4 separate regions of the Homo sapiens genome follow, and all the other regions are linked to region 4. The links are contacts of gene promoters, found by promoter capture Hi-C in blood cells and fetal thymus (Javierre and others, 2016). All regions are on one chromosome and are shown on one strand. Each heading gives the region's core, a stretch centred on a gene start or on the middle of the fragment in contact. The rest is flanking DNA. Distances are from core to core; before and after follow the strand shown. Region 1 has its middle 260 kb from the start of LINC01192. Region 2 overlaps ZBBX (zinc finger B-box domain containing). Region 3 has its middle 240 kb from the start of LINC01192. Region 4 holds the start of SLITRK3 (SLIT and NTRK like family member 3).

Region 1 (2,700 bases), core at 101-2,600, 2.1 Mb before region 4:
AATCAGTTTAAAGTATTTTCTTCTATTGTATGGTACATTTTTCACATTCTGAATAATCTTTTAGATGATAATTAATAATTTAAATATAATACATATTATCAAATTTTTGATTTGATAATGCAGGAGCGGTTTATAAGGTCATGCTGTTTAGGCTGAATGCTTGCAGAGCGGATGCCTGGGTGCAGGTGGGCTGTGAGCTGAGCAATGGTTAACAGGATGCTTGGGTGCTGGTGGGCCTTTTGTGGTTGACTCCATTTGTTGGAATATTCTCCCTGTTTCTATTTTTGTCAGCTAAGCACATGCTTCAGTTTTCTTTTAACTCCTTAGGTCTCCACAATGAGTAAATATAGGCTGTAGCAGAGTTTATGGAGGTTAAGCAGTATGTGGTACCATAGCAAGAAGTTCAAAAATATCTAGTAGTCAACGTCTGACTTCCTGATTGAGTATATATTCCTTTTGTATTTGTTCAGTATGATGGCCTTCTCATATTTTCTGTTTTTCTTTTACTAAAATGTAAGTCAGTCACTAAAATACACACACACAAACACACACACACATCTGTATGCATGTATCTACATACAAACATGTATTTGAAATCTAAATATACATTATCATGAGCAATGATAAAGTTTTACAATATAGCTTTACCCTTCATGAAATATTGAACAAAGGAAAATAAAAGGAGTTGATAACATCAACAGATAGATGTCCGTCTATTACATCTATGGCCTTCATGCTAAATGTTTATATGATGGTAGGTTTTTATAAGCTCTATTTGCTTTACTTCTTGCCAGCAATCATAACTTTGAAAAACATTTCTGAATTTTTTCCCTTTTTGGTAATTTTTTTTTACAAATATAATAAAGATTTATTAGACAATCAAGTCATTATTCAAGACCATGGGGCATATGTTTAACATACTTGTCTTACTGAGCATGATATATAAGTATGCTTGTATATATTTTTTGGATGTATGTATATCTGAAAGTACTAAACAAAGTAATTTTTTTTTCATTTCATCCTCTTAAAACGTTTTCTGCTGAAGCTGTTTTGAACACAGTTTGTTCAAGAATGGTTCTAAAGGAAAGTAGATGCTACCTTTAGAAGAAGAACCCATGCCATTTAATTACAAACACCCACAGGTTTTGTGTGTGTGTGTGTGTGTGTGTGTATTTGTGTGTATGTGTGTGTTATGTTCTGTGTATATTGGGTTGCAATATAAAATTTACTTCTATCTTTCAGTTGTAGTAAAAAAGTTTGAAAGTCATTGTGGTAATTTACATAGTCCTCTCTCCCTTCATCTTTCGGGGTAGAGAGCAATATACAATTATTTAAGCATTTTTTCAAAGGAGACTTGTGCTGGCTGAAGAAAAGATTTAAATTGTTGAATTAACAAATTCACACATATAGTGCCATGACTCAGGACAAAGTGACATTGTGGAATGGAGAAATTGCAGTGGAATGCAGTGGAGGAAGAATGACCTTTTGAAAATGATGTTAGGTCAATTGAATATACAAAGAAGGAAAAAAAACTTCCTCACATTCTACACAAAAAAACAATTTCAGATAGAATGTATATTAATCTAAAAAGTACAAAAGTAAGTCTATTAGAATAAAATGTAGGGGAATAATTGTCTTTCAGTTCAGTAAAGATATCTGAAAAGGAGTGCAAAAATTGCTACTATAAAGGAAAAATTTGATAATGTATAGTATATTTAAATTATAAATTAATCTATTATTAAGAATGTGAAAAATGTAACATAGAATGGAAAAAATATTTTAAATTTAATTCATATATACCTATACATACACACATATATGATAAAGGTGTTACATTCGACCTTGTTTCAAAACTAAAATCAGTAAGACAATCTAATAGAAAATTTGGAAAAAGATTTGAACAGGGCTTATAGACAAGAAGATATCAAAATATCCAAAAAAAGAGAAAAAAGTTCTAACTCATCAAGCAATAGTAAAATGCAAAACAAACTCAGAATGAGATGCTATATACAACACAACACCCACCAGGAGAGCTAAATGAAAAATGCTGACAAGACCTAGTATCGGCAAGAATGTAAAGAAAACAGAGCTCTTACACATTGCTGGTGGGAGAGTAAATGTGTATACCTATTTTGGTACTGTCTTTGGAAAACTCTTTCAGAATATGTCTAAGAGCTCATGATAGGCATTCTCTATAAGCAACAATTCAGATTTAAGGTATAAAACCCATATAAACAGATAGAGTCATGTAGTCATGTTCCGCATAACCACATTTCAGTCAGTGATGGATCCCATATTCTACAATGGTTCAGTAAGGATATAATGGAGCTACAAATTTTCCATTGACTAGTGACATGGTAACATTTTATCACAAGGCATTCCTCACATGTTTGTGGTGATGCTGGTGTAAACAAATCTACTGCTTTGCCAGTCATACAAAATGATAGAAAATATAACATGTACAGTACAGAACACTTAATACATAATATAATATGTATAGTACAGAACACACAATAATTAATGGTAGTCAATAAACAACAATGTTACTTGTTTATGTATTTACTATCCTACATTTTTATTGTTATTTTAGATGATACTCCTCTGCTTATTGAAAAAAAAAAAGTTAGCTGTAAAACAGCCTCAGGCAAGTCCTTCAGGAGATATTCCAGAGGAAGCTATTGTTATCATAGGAGATGACAG
Region 2 (2,700 bases), core at 118-2,617, 2.2 Mb after region 4:
ATCTTACTGAACTGGGAAGTGTCTAAAACGTTGCCCCTAACAACTAGAAAAAGACAAGGATGCCTACTTTTACCACTTCTATTCAACATAGTACTGGAATTCCTAGCCAGAACAATCAGGCAAAAGAAAGAAATAAAAGGCATCCAAATTGGAAAAGAGGAAGTCAAATTATTTATGTTTGCTAATGATGTTATCTTATGCCTAGAAAACCCTAATGGCTTCTCTGACACACTCATCAATTGATTGGATAAAGAAAATATTGTAAGATATATACCATGGAATACTACTCCACTATGAAAAAGAATGATTTTACATCTTTTACAGCAACATGAAAGGAACTAGATGGAGGCCATTATCCTAAGTGAAATAACTCATAAACAAGAAGTCAAATACTGCATGTATTACTTGTAAGTGGGAGAGCTAAACAATGGGTGTTAACTAAACACATGGACATACAGAGTAGAAAAATAGACACTGGACACTCCATACATTGGAAGGGTGGGAAAGGGGTAAAGACTGAAAAATTACATAGTGGCTATGATGTTCCCATTCAGATGATGGGTACTAAAAGCCCAGACTTCATCACTACACAATATATCCAGATAACACAACTTCACTTGTACCAACTAAATCTATAAAAATAAAAATAATAATAATAAATTATAACAGAGCAGTGATATTATATGTTTTATCTCATTTAATCCTCACAACAACTCTATAAATTTACAATCACCCTTGTATCTCCATAATGAAGAAGAGATAACAAAAGAACATAATGATGAAGAATTTGTCCAGAGTCATACAAGCTAATAGTGGTGGGGACAGGAATTCAATCCTACCATGTGGCTCAAAGCTTAAACCCTTAACCACAACAAACATTACTAATCTTTAAATTAATCATTTACAATAAACTAAAATAGTGATCAGTTACAGACACTCTTCAACTTACAATGTGGCTACTGCCCAATAAACCCATCATAAATTGAAAACATTGTAAGTTGAAAATATATTTAGTACAAATAACCTACTAAGCATCATAGCTTAGCCTAGCTAACCTTAAATGTGCTCAAAACACTTACATTAGCCTACATTTGAGCAAAATCATCTAACACAAACCTATTTTATAATAAATTGTTGAATATCTTGTGTTTTTTTTAACCTTCATGATCACATGGCTGACTATGAGCTTCCTAGCATCGTATTTTACCACATATCACTAGCCTGGGAAAATATCAGAATTCGAACTTTGAAGTATGGTTTCTACTGAATACATACTGTTTTTACACATCATAAAGTCAAAAAATTGTAAGTGAAAAATGGTAAGTCAGGGACCATTTATATCGAAAAACCTTGATAAAATCCACAATAAAATAAAATTCAGTATTTAAAAAGAATGCATGGTCTGGTATGTATCAAAATCCAAATGTATGTTTTTCAAGTGTGATTAGCTAAAAGATGATGGAATTTTTACTTAATCTGAAGAAAAAAAAACACTATCCCTAGCATAGAAACTAGTCCCCTCTTTCCATTCTTGTTTCATGAGCTTCATTCTTCTAGAGAAATGATAAAAACATTATCCTAAATCCGTAATTTTAAGTGTAAAATAAACTTTAAAACTATAATTTTATATAAATACATGGTTATATCATTATATTAATATGGATTTCAAAATATATTCTGCATAATTTTTATTTAATATAACTTGCTAATTTTAAGTGAATTTTTCCTAAACATTTGGCACTGTTTTTACACTATAATGCAGAAAACTGAAAATGAGTTTCAGCATATAATTCTAAGCCAAGTGTCTGTTAACAACATACTTTTAGTAAAAGTAGCCAAACGAATATTTGTAGACTGGAAGATCAATGCTGGACTTGCAGAGTAAGCTTATATATTTTGTTATACAAGGATATTTGGATTAAAATTGAGTTAAAATGACCTCCAATTGGAAAATCTTTTTAGGCAGTTTGTACAACTGGCAGAAACATGCTAAAAATGTAAATAAGGACTCCTTCCCACCACAGATGCTTCCTCAATGATGGAATATCCAACTGCAGTTTTAACAAATATCTTGTTAATTTGATGAATGCCAGATCAGTTGTGCTAAGCTTCAGAATCCATTTGAGTTTAATTAAATTATTCACATTTGCCAAATTAATATATAAGAAAAGTGGAACTTTTGGGCTTCGTCTTTGCCATCAATATATGTAAATGGATAGGTCATTTAAAAATTTGCCAACAACAAAACACACTGTTTATTGTCTTCCGTCTATGTGCTGGACACAATGCTAAATATTTTACATGTATTAACTCATTACGTGTGATAACTTTGAGGTACAGATTACTGTTATCCGTAGTAACCTATTTCACAAATGAGGAAACAGAGATAAAGAGGGATTAAGTCATTTGCTGAAGGTCACATAGCTAATAACAGGTAAAGTTGAGTTTCAAACTCCCAAAACACAAGCCCTTAACTCCTATCTCCCATACACAATTTTCCCTGGTGAAGGCCAAGGATATACATATATCTATATCTATATACATAGATATATATATCCTTTATATATATATTCATATATACACATATGTGGCTTTCAAATATATATATTCACTCATTATCCAGTCAGCATAACCATATGCAATGACAGATGCTAAGAACACAAGATAACATCAGAGTTTAACAATACCATGGTCTACTTC
Region 3 (2,700 bases), core at 36-2,535, 2.1 Mb before region 4:
CACCCCCAGGAAAGGAACTGAGTCCAGGGGGCTGGGCAGCAATGGCCTGCAGTCTCGCTTCCATGGCACCTCACAGGACAAGACCCATTTAACTGGGATTCCAGCCTCCCATGGCCTGTGTACTTTGGCGAGCACCAATGCTCCACATCTATGACACTGGGGTTCCAGATGGAGGGGCAGGCTACCATATTTACTGTTTTCCAGCCTTCCCTGATGCTGCTTTCAGACTCTATAGAGTCTGAGGGGACTGAGAACTGGAGTGGACCCTCAGTGCAGCATGACTTCCCTGTGGAGAAGTGGCCATTTTTTGCATGGGTCCCTGATCCCATTTCTTCTCCCTTGGCAAGACCTCCTGACCAGGGGCTCCAGACACACCTGCTGCAGTTCTCAGGCCAGGAAGGACTGCATCTCCCTGAAACAGAGTACCCACAGAGAGGAGCAGGCCACCATTTTGCTCTTTTGTAGCCTTCACAGCTGCTGTCTTCAGGCTCTGGGGAGTCCAAGGTAACCAGTGCCTGAAGCAGATTGCCAGCACAGCACAGCCATCCTATGGAAAGGCAGTCAGACCATTTTACACAGGTTCCCAATCCCATTTCTCCTCATTGGGCAGGATCTAGAGCTGTGGTGTGCAGTGCCAAGCTTTGATCTGCAGCTCTCAAGTGGGAGAGGAACCCACATTTTCAGAGCATTGAGAGGGAGCACAGCTACAGCTGCAAGGAAATATAGAAAAAAACACGTGACTAAACAAGAGCCTACCTACTGACAATTACACTTAGACACTTACTAGAATGAGAGCCCACCTACTGTGCCCTACTAACTGGCAGTTACACTTAAACACCTACTAGAATGACAGTCCACATACTGGAATGAGAGCCCACCTACTAACCTACTGTATTCTACCCCCAAAATTCAACACCAAAAGTACTTTGCTAACATACCCTGCTGTGAAACCAAAGACACGAAGTCAGCTGCAAACAAAGATGCTGCATGAATCCTTGGCCTTCTGGGAACATCCAGAAAAAAATTCTACTGACTGTATTCAATCTACATCACAGTTAAAGAAACATTTACACACAGAGATGAGAATCAGTGCAAGAATTCCGGTGACTCAAATGGTCAGAGCCTTCTGTCCTCCAAATGACTGAACTAATTCTCTAACAAGGGCTCTTAACTCGGCTGAAATAGCTGAAATGACAGAAACAGAATTCAGAATATGGATAAAAATGAAGATCATTGAGATTCAGGAAAATGTCAAAACCCAATTCTAGGAAGCTAAGATTCACAATAAAATGATACAAGAGGTGACAAATGAAATAGCCAGTATACAAAAGAACCTAACTGAACTAATAGAACTGAAAATCATACTACAAGAATTTGATAAAGCAATTGCCAAGTATTAACAACAGAATAGGCTGAGCTGAGAAAAGAATCTAAGAGCATGAAGGCTGTCTCTCTGAAATAGACAGTCAGACAAAAATAAAGAGAATAAAAAGGAATGAACAAACCATCAGGAAATAGTGAATTACATAAAGAGGCCAAATTGATGAATCATTGGTGTCCCTGAAAGAAATGGGGAGAAAGCAAGCAACTTGGAAAATATATTTCAAAACATTATTGATGAAAATGTCCCAAAACTTGCCAGAGAGGTGGCCAACAGCTGAATTTAAGAAATGCAAAGAATTCCCTGCAAGATAATACACTAGACTATCATCCCCAGGAAACATAATTATCAGATTTTCCAAGGTCCAAATGAAAGACAAATATGTTAAAAGCAGCTAGAGAGAAAGGCCAGGTAACCTGCAAAGACAACCCCATCAGGCTAACAGCACACTTTTCAGCAGAAACCCTGTAGGCTAGAAGAGATTGGGTGCCAATATTCAACATTCTTAGAGCAAAAATCCTCAAACCAAGAATTTCATATTTAGTGAAACTAAGCTTCAAAGGTGAAAGAGAAATAAGATCCTTCTCAGAGAAGCAAATGCTGAGAGAATTATTTACCACCAGACTTGCCTTGTAAGTGGTCCTTAAAGGAACACTAAATATGGAAAGTAAGGTCAATGATCAGCCAATCCAAAAACATTCTTAAGTACATAGACCTGTGATACTATAAAGCAACCACAGAAACAAGTCTGCACCACAATTACCTAACACAATGACAAGATAAAATCCACACATATTTATACTAACCTTGACTGTAAACACACTAAGTGTTCCAATTAAAAGTCACAGAGTGGCATGCTGGATAAAGAAAAAAACACAATGTATTCTGTCTTCAAGAGAGCTATCTTGCATTCAATGACACCCATCTCAAAATAAAGGAATAGAGAAAAATGAACCTAGCAAGTGGAAAACAGAAAAAAGCAAAGGTTGCAATCCTAATTTTAGACAAAACAGGCTTTCAACCCACAAATACCAAAAAAAAGAAAGACCAGAAAATGGCATTAAGATATATGTGGTAAAGGGATCAATTCACTTTAAAAAACCTAACTATCCTAAATATATATGCACCCAACACAAGAGCACCCAGATTCATAAAGTAACTTCTTAGAGGCTTAGGAAGAGACTTGGACTCCCATAAAATAATAGTGGGAGACTTCCACACCACACTTACTATATTAGACAGACATCAAGGCAGACAATTTACAAAGATATTCAGGTCTTGAACTCAACACTTGACCAAAGAGATCTAACAGGCATCTG
Region 4 (2,700 bases), core at 158-2,657:
TCCAGAGGGAGGACAAGAAGCCCTTTCTCCCTGCTGTGCCCCCTTCCCACTTCCTCCTCCCCACTGCTGGATCTTACAGCTCACTAATTTTTTCAGATCTAAGATTAAGTATTCCAATATGGAAGCAAAACTATCTTCCCTAGAACAAATAATTAAAACGCTGCATCATTCATTTTCTGAAGAGCTTTGAGCCGTCTATAGAGCCTTTTCTAATCTGCTGTCGTCAGGCGAAACGCACAATGGTCTGTTTAGAAACGGAAAATTATTAAAAGCTCAAGCCTTTTTCCTTCTACCTCTTACAACACCAGCGAGCATTCCACTGGGGGAGGGGTCCTTCGCTCCGCCACCTGGCCTATTTGTTGGAGTTACTTACGATGTCTTCACCCAGAAAAGAGGTCCGAGGGTATGTTAGTCTCCGGTACCCCTCCTTCCACCAACGTCCTTACACCTAACTGATCCAATTCAAAACTGCAACAAACCCCTAGCACCTGTGAGCGTACAGAATACACCGCGGCCAAACTCGATGTGCTCTACAATGCACATCCTACATACGAGAAATACTGGTTTCAATTAGGCGAAGTAGGAAAGGATGGCGGCGAGTACCTATGGTGCAGAGCGCTCAGGATCTCCGAGGTTTGCTGCGAGGGGCTACCCAGCAGGAGGGGCAAACTCTCTGCGAAGCTGAATTGTATCCATCATACTGTAGCCTTGTAGCTTCTCCTCTTCTGGCCACCAACTTTCCGAAAGGCTACCGAATCACGCTTGTAATCCGTTTAAATGTTTCCACCTTTGAGACTTGCAGGGAAATGGTCGCTGCATACCAATGGGAGAGCGGGGCGCGCACCTAGCGCGGCGATGCCAGCGACAGGGAGCTCACGACCACAGCTCCCTATGCCCTCGATGGTTGGTAGGCAGGCAGGCAGAGTGAGTGTCCCAGGACTAGGTTCCTTTGATTTAAAATCTCGGTGCTCTGGATCAGTGGAGAGCTTCGTTGTTCCCGAGAGCCTGAGCTCAGTCTCTGGATTTCTCTCTTTCTCTCTTCCTCAAAGGTTGTCACTCACAGCGCAATCCCTGCCCGAGGCCTCCTTCCATCCGAGAAGATGGAATTAGCCCTTGCTTTTCCAGGGTGTCTTTGCTCTTTGCCCTTTAGGTGGGTGGGAGTGGGGGTTGGTGGCGTGTAGATGAGAGAAGAAAAGGGTGGGGAGAGGCGGAAAGGAGGCAGGAAGGGGGCGACTAGATCTCAGATCCCAGCATTGGTCAGACGGCGAAGGTGGGGGGAAAGAAGGAGAGGGGGAGAGAAGATACAAATACACAGTATGGCTGTGCACACCAAATTCCACTTGGATTTGGGAGATCTCAGGCAAAGCACGAAGGTGAAGCGATACCGTTGGCAGAGAGTGAGTCCTCTGACCGCTCACCATTCAAGCACCCTCACTTCTCGAGCGGGAGAAGGTGCGGGGGAGGGGGGTGGGAGGGGGAGGGGACTGCTGAACGTTTCAGGCCAAGGAGACGCTCGCGGCGGCGGCGGCGGCGGCATCTTTTAAGACTGACCTGCTTTAAAAGTGCCACTTTAATGGCCTAGGAAATAACTAAAATCGGATTACACGTTACTTACCAACGTCTCCTCCTAAACTGGAGCGCCAGGTCGTGTATAAGGAGTCAATATAGGAAACGCAGGGCTGGAACCTGAATGCAAATCCATCAGCCGCCCCCAAATCGCGCACCAAGGGAGCGGCGCTCGGGAGCCCCCAGATCAGCCCATCGCCGGAGCTCCGCCAGCGCGTCCCCCCCGCACCCCCGGCCCCTCCTCCGCGCCAACTGTGTAAATCAGCCGCCGCAGTCCTCTCGCCGCGCATCGCAGGCAAAATCCCGGCTTAGGAAGCAAGGAAGCAAGTGATCTCTCTCTCTCTCTCTCTCTCTGTCTCTCTCTCTCTCTCTCTCTCTCTCTCTCCTCTCTCTGTCTCTCTCTCTCTCGCTCTCTCTCTCGCTCTCGCTCTCGCTCTCTCTCTCTCGCTTTCGCTGTCCGCCTTTCCCTCTCCCCCATTATCGGTCACAACCTGGCAGCTCTTCAAGAGACACCCTGTGAAATTGAGTGTCGGGAAGTCAGCATTCTGTACCCGTGGATTGATTTGTAACTTTTATTTGCAAATGAGAGAGATGCCTGTTTGGAAAATTACAGCCCAAAAGGTGGAGGGTGATCAAATTAAGAACATCTGAGCTGTATTGGTGGGCGGTATCGCTAAACGCCTCCGGGGAGCGGTTTCCAAGTGATTTGCAGTAATCCCCCACCTTCATGATACATGGGTGACGATTTGAAAGTACACATATTTCCTCATCTGTTTACATTTGCCGGGGGCGGGGGGCATAAAACTGTAGGGCACAGGGAGTTGGGAGGGGGGCATTTGCCTGAGAGATGCTGGATACCATTTCGCGATAAATTAGATACGGACACTGGAACAATTAATACGTGTAATAACACGTATGTGAAAGTATTATTACAACATTACAGAGGCGACCATTACCCCCACTGCAGTCATACTAATGCAGTCATTCGTTTAATGCTCCATTCAATCTGCAGTGTAAACCAACGCAATTCTTTTTAATAGATCCCTTTCATCAGAGACTGTGTTGGAAAGAGGGCAGTCTTCCACTAACTCCCAAAGTGAATAGAAGGTAGCCTGGGGAATCATCTCTGTATCT

Evidence for each region. The method cuts DNA at HindIII sites, captures the fragments that hold promoters and counts their contacts. A CHiCAGO score of 5 or more calls a contact.
Region 1: a fragment that was not itself captured here is called in contact with the fragment with the promoter of SLITRK3 in region 4 in 1 of 17 cell types (M0 macrophages); the score reaches 6.3 in M0 macrophages.
Region 2: a fragment that was not itself captured here is called in contact with the fragment with the promoter of SLITRK3 in region 4 in 1 of 17 cell types (M2 macrophages); the score reaches 6.4 in M2 macrophages.
Region 3: a fragment that was not itself captured here is called in contact with the fragment with the promoter of SLITRK3 in region 4 in 1 of 17 cell types (M2 macrophages); the score reaches 6.8 in M2 macrophages.

The regions. Positions count from the first base shown.
Region 1 is chr3:163,045,943-163,048,642 of GRCh38, forward strand. No RefSeq gene overlaps it. Among named protein-coding and RNA genes, the nearest start is that of LINC01192, 260 kb to the right of the region's middle. The HindIII fragment of the contact is 3,037 bases long and covers 1-2,700 here.
Region 2 is chr3:167,353,013-167,355,712 of GRCh38, forward strand. All of the region lies in intron 8 of ZBBX (zinc finger B-box domain containing), which reads right to left. Among named protein-coding and RNA genes, the nearest start is that of ZBBX, 26 kb to the right of the region's middle. The HindIII fragment of the contact is 1,033 bases long and covers 852-1,884 here.
Region 3 is chr3:163,062,939-163,065,638 of GRCh38, forward strand. No RefSeq gene overlaps it. Among named protein-coding and RNA genes, the nearest start is that of LINC01192, 240 kb to the right of the region's middle. The HindIII fragment of the contact is 1,296 bases long and covers 638-1,933 here.
Region 4 is chr3:165,194,977-165,197,676 of GRCh38, forward strand. SLITRK3 (SLIT and NTRK like family member 3) reads right to left here and starts at 1,408. Exons shown (of 2, transcript NM_001318810.2): 1 at 604-1,408. The HindIII fragment of the contact is 7,642 bases long and covers 1-2,700 here.